2 separate regions of the Homo sapiens genome follow, and region 1 is linked to region 2. Evidence: promoter capture Hi-C in 16 types of primary human blood cells and fetal thymus (Javierre and others, 2016). All regions are on one chromosome and are shown on one strand. Each heading gives the region's core, a stretch centred on a gene start or on the middle of the fragment in contact. The rest is flanking DNA. Distances are from core to core; before and after follow the strand shown. Region 1 overlaps ACSL3 (acyl-CoA synthetase long chain family member 3). Region 2 holds the start of BARD1 (BRCA1 associated RING domain 1).

Region 1 (2,700 bases), core at 135-2,634, 8.1 Mb after region 2:
GGTGGGACTGGGATTAAGACTGTCGTTTGGGGTTTGAGAGTTGCAGCTTTGCTTTTCCCCAAGTGCGTTTTAATCATATACTGTTGATAGGTTGGGTAACTCGGGGACTGCTTACTACCAGCAGTCCTGTGGGGTAGGTGTTATCAGGCTCGTTTCACAGATGAGGAGCCCGAGGCACAGGTTTTCAAATGGTTTTCGCAGGAAGTCTGATACTAGAAAGTGTGCTCTAAGCTGCTGTATAAAAGATCCCTCGAAAATGAAAAGGCTGGAGGAATGTCTTTAAAATTATATGGAAGCTAGAAAGGCAGTAGGCTTTGTGAACGAAATTATAGCTGAAAAGAATGACAAATAGCTGACATTTATTGAGCTTTTATTACATGCCACGCACTGTTTGGAGAGCTTTATGTACAGTGTCTTCACACTGTTAACAGTCCTCTGGGGTGGGGGTTATTCCCATTTTACAGCGGGAGAAACTGCAGATTGGACGACTTAGCTTGCCTCAGATCTCAGCTAGTAAGAAGCTGGGATTCAGACAGGCCTGTGTAAATCCAGAGCTCTGAAATCTAAGCACTATATTTTGCTGCCTCTCCTTGGTGGCTGGCTGAATAGTTTCCACAGTGGATTTTAGTCTGGGTGGCCAGGAGAGTTGTAGTTTGATGATACCTTCTTTCATGTTTATCAACCTATTTTGTTTCCCCAAATTAGTTCTGAGAGTTAAGGGTGCTGATGAGTTGCTCCTGAAAGTGTATTAGAAGGGTATTATAGGGGACAGGTGGTGTGACATGGGAATCTTTTGCACAGACTTGATTTTGTTTTCTGGCATTTTTCTGGGCAGTTCCTCACACTTGGGGATGAGTAAGCCTTCTAATTGTCGCATGCGTTTTCTCTCTAGACTTTTCCTGGTTTCTCTTTTGTATAAAAATATTGGTTTTGTAGGATGACATTGGGTGTGGGGCAGAGTGGTCCATTGGACCTAAGGGTCAAGGTGACAAGTCACCTCGTATCTTTGGATCTCAGTTACTGAATTTGTAAGGCTTTAGACTCAGTGACTTAAAGCTTAAATATTCTGAGGGTCTAAAATGTTCTCCTTGAAGGAAGAAAGGAAGAATGGGAGAAATGAAGAACGCACAAATTATAAGGGGAAAATCATCCTCTGTCTGGTTTGGGGTGAGAATCAGATCTTAAAGCCTCGAGGTCTGTTTCATTTGCTTTTGTGTTTCCCTGCTGTTTGGTTCCAGTTAAGTGACTGTTTCATTCCTCATTTGATTAATTGACTCACCTAGAGCCATTTAATTTTTGTGATATGTCAGGCACCTTATTAGGTGCTGGGAATACAGCTGTGAATAGAGGGAAAAATAGACAAGAAGCAAATGGTCATACAAACGGATAGGTGGTTGCAAGTTTGATAGGTACGATGAAGGAAAAGTATTGTGTGAATGAGGATTATGAGCAAGATTGTGATGTAGATGGAAATCTAGTCTAGGGAGCTGTTTTTTGAATTGATGTGGTGAGATTTTGCTAGAGGACAGTCTTGAAATCTGAGCCTGCAATTATGTACATAATGCAAGAGTTTGGGAAGTTGTCAGCAACAATAATTCTTTTCATTGCACAGTGTATTTCATACTCAGAATGTCATCCCGGCTCTCATTGCAAGATACGAAAATGAGATAGGCAACTTTACAAGTTGTCATTCTGTCTGCCTTCAGGGTACTTAAAGCTTAAATAGTCCTCTAATACTTTCTCCCACTCAAAATGAACTGTAAGGGGGAGTAAGACTCTTTTATGTGAGATTTGGGCTTGAATATTGGATTTAGATTTTTTTTAGGAAAGCTAGGCCAAGGGTGATAGGCTTTTAAAACAACGAGCATCATAATGACTCAAAAGTATCCATTGTAGCATACGCTTCACAGGGTCATTTAACTTAAAAGTCTCATCATCTTAGGAGATCATTTTTTGATGGCTGGATTGGGAAATATAGATTGTTAAAAATATATAAATGTCTCAGTTGAACATGTATGAAGCCAATTCAAATAATACATTGCAATATATTTACTTAATGGCCATCTGCATGCAAAACACCGTCCTAGGGGTACCATGTGGCATAAATAAAAAAGATGAACTTGCCAAAGTTACTGCTTTCAAAGAGATTTCAGTTAATGTATACTAATACTCAAATTTAAGGTTTTTTTTTTTCAAAGTGCTAGCATATCTCATCTGATCCTTTTAAGAGCCATATATGATAAACAGAAATACTGAGAAAATGGAGATAAAAAATTGTCAGGATATGGTGATAAATAGTAAATGGAGTGGGAGAAAGAGGTGCTAAGTGATTACTAGGTTTCAGACCTATGCAACTAAAGAGGTATGTGTGCTATTCACTGAGCTGGGGCTTAACTGGTAGAGAACTAGGTTCTGGATATGGGAAGGGCATGACTTTAGTTTTGGAAGTGTTCAGCTGGAGCTGCCTTTGAGGCCTTTATTGAGGTACTGGTTTTGTGCTGAGAATTGGGGTGGCCATTTACCGTTTTGAAGACCTCCATGTAGAGGCAAGAGCTCAAACCATGGGTATGGGTGAGATTGCCTGTGGGGAGGCTATAGAATAAGAAGAGAAGGAGGCCTGGGATGGAGCTGGGCAGAGGAGGTTGAGCTTGTCAAGGAGACAAGAGTGGCCAGGAAGGTCAGAGGACAGCCAGAAACAGA
Region 2 (2,700 bases), core at 96-2,595:
GGCGGAGCTTGCAGTGAGACAAGATCGTGCCACTGCACTCCAGCCTGGGCGACAGAGCGAGACTCCGTCTCAAAAAAGGAAAGAAAAGAAAAAGTTGTGTTACTTATACTTTATGCAACTAGGTAACTTAAGTTCTGCAAGTTAGAAATCAAAGGGGAAAAAAGTCCAAAAAGGATATAAACTTTTGACAGCTACAAATAACAAAAAAACTGCCAGTGATCTTCATACAGAAATACTTAGCTGTACACACAGCAAGTGCTCAATAAAAATGCTTTTCAGAAGAAATGAAAATGAGACAAACCTTTCTTGGGTTTTACAAACCTTCTTGGTTTGTATACTAGAAAGAGCTACACGAAAAAAAGCAAGAAGTAACACTCATGAAAATGTCTTTGGACGGAATGAAAACCCTGAGAGGACTCCCATAATGTGACAGCATGAAGGAAAACAATAAACAGCATCACTAAGAGCGGGGACACCAGACATACAGTCTTTTGAGCAAACTAAGAAAATGAGAAATTCCGTGCCATCTTCAATCTACAACTATGGTAGATATCCGATGCTCCATCCCATCTCACTCGAAAAAGCTGGCACGGAGAAAATGTCAAAAAGGCCAGTTTAACTTAGAGTGGCAGCTGCTTCTAATTTAGAGGGTCTCCGGGGCGGCCCGCCAGCCCAATTCGCCACAGCTCCCGGAAAGCAGCGGGGTAATCCAGGGCCGGGTAAAAAATGCAGAAGCCTCAGCCCCACCCCAGCCCGATTCAAACTCTGGAGGCGCGACCGGGATGAACATTTTTTTAGCCACACCTCCAGACGGTTCTTCAGCCCGCTGAAGTTCAAAAACTACCGTTTCAGTTGGATTCAGGGCAAGGGGAGGCCGGTAAGTCGCCCAAAAATAAAGTGAATGAGAAGCAGAAGTTGTTAATACTATATCCCCCGGCAGGTGCTAACCGCACGCCGACCCGACTGCAGCGCGGGAACGGAAGGAGGAAACGGAAGATTTGAAAAGATTCTGCCGCCCCCAGAAACTGTGCGACCCGTGCCCTCGCAGCCACCCCCAAGAAGCTCCGTCTTTACCAACGCGAGCAGCGCAGCAGCTTCTCCAGGCGGTCGAGCGCGGCGCGACTGTGGGCCCAGGCACCGCGACCATCCGGTTCCATGGCGGGCGCGGAACGAGGCTCGTTCCCGGAGCGGATCCTCGGCTGCCGGTTCCTCGGCTGCCGATTATCCGGCATCGTCCCGCCTTCGGATGAAAGGCTCCTCGCAGAGCGGGAAGCAAGGAAGCCTCGGGAAACCACAGGGAAGCTGCAGGCCAGCGACTCGAAACCGGCCAAGCTCTTCCCGCGTCTGGGACGGCGGGCCGCCAGAGGGGCGGGGCGCGCGGGGAGGGGCGGGGCACGGCGGCCGCAATGCTCCCAAAATAGGGACTCGCAGGGCACAGGGGCGGGGCCGCGAGAGCCAGCCGCTGGCCGAGTGGGCGGGACCTAGGGGTGGGGCTGGAGGCTGAAACTTGCCAAAGTCCCGGCGTGTGGGACTTAGGGGAGGGGCCGCGAGAGCCGTGGGACCGAGGGGGCGGGGCCGGACGGCTGAAACTTGCCAAAGTCCCGGCGCGCGGGTCCTAGGGGCGGAGCCGCGAGAACACGCCGGGGACAGAGGGGGCGGGGCCTAGGAGCCTCGGGGCGGGACAGGACGGTCGAAACCGAAGTCCTGGCGCGCGGGGCCCAGGGGCGGGGCCTAGGGGCCTCGGGGCAGGACAGGACGGCTGAAACCGAGGTCCCGGCGCGCGGGGCCCAGGCGCCGTGCAGTGAGAGCACGCCGCTTGACCGAAGGGGCGGGGCCTGAAGGCTGAGCGCAGTCGCGAGGCTGTAGTTGGCAGGAGAGCGGGCGGGGCCTGAAGCCCCTCTGGGCTGCCTGGACGGATGAAGTCCAGGTGGAAAGCCAGTCGACGTTTCCCGGGAGCTACGACTCCAGGGACCCTCATCCGAGCTTAACCGTTGGAACAATCACAAACCCAGAAACTTTTAGCTGAGTGTTATTTATAAAAAGCGCTGTTTTGACTGCTGTTGGACTTGGAAAAGCTTTGCCCACGATACTGAAGGTACCACTCTTTGTTCCTAAGAAAGCAACCTTTTCTTTCCTCTCACCTCAGCTGTGGCGTATATTGTAACTGAGTAAAAATAAGGAAAGTTTCTAATTCTAACTAGTTAACAAATATCAGCTCAAAGGCATGTCTGAAAAGATCTGGTTTACTTTTAAAATATTGGTATAAAATTTCAAAAAGGGTTTTTTTTGTTAGAGAGTGTGTCCACCTTCCTCCTCCAGATCTTTCACTGATCGCCGTAATTTACAGATAAGACCTACAGAGCAACCCGTCATGCCTTCCTGCCGCGCCCCAAGTTCATTTCCAAGTCCTTGCATTTTTTCCCCCTAACTTGTCTCGAATGCACCCATTTTCTCTCCGTCTCTGCTCCACAACATCCCCAGTTGCCTCGTCCTCGCCTGGTTTCCTGTCGTAGCTTTCTAGCTGATATCCAAGTGTCTATCCAGGTCCCAGCCAGTCCCGAGACTGCGGTGTGGCCGCCTAAAACATTTCCAAACACAAAACTCATCGTGGCACTTCCCTTTCTTAAAACTCCTTAAAGTTTTTCTCTGCTCTTTGACTAGCCTCTTGTCAAAACCTCCTCTGGCCATCATGGTCCCAAC

Evidence for each region. Contacts are between HindIII fragments. The CHiCAGO score rates a contact against its expected background, and 5 or more counts as called.
Region 1: a fragment that was not itself captured here is called in contact with the fragment with the promoter of BARD1 in region 2 in 2 of 17 cell types (total B cells and non-activated CD4 T cells); the score reaches 7.3 in total B cells.

What each region holds. Positions count from the first base shown.
Region 1 is chr2:222,861,793-222,864,492 of GRCh38, forward strand. The region is part of intron 1 of ACSL3 (acyl-CoA synthetase long chain family member 3); the gene reads left to right. Among named protein-coding and RNA genes, the nearest start is that of ACSL3, 2.1 kb to the left of the region's middle. The HindIII fragment of the contact is 661 bases long and covers 1,055-1,715 here.
Region 2 is chr2:214,808,338-214,811,037 of GRCh38, forward strand. BARD1 (BRCA1 associated RING domain 1) reads right to left here and starts at 1,346. Exons shown (of 11, transcript NM_000465.4): 1 at 1,075-1,346. The coding sequence starts at 1,232. It overlaps SNHG31 (small nucleolar RNA host gene 31), which reads left to right and starts at 1,892. Exons shown (of 4, transcript NR_110292.1): 1 at 1,892-2,095. RefSeq lists enhancers at 285-334, 625-704 and a silencer at 1,255-1,824. The HindIII fragment of the contact is 4,673 bases long and covers 1-2,073 here.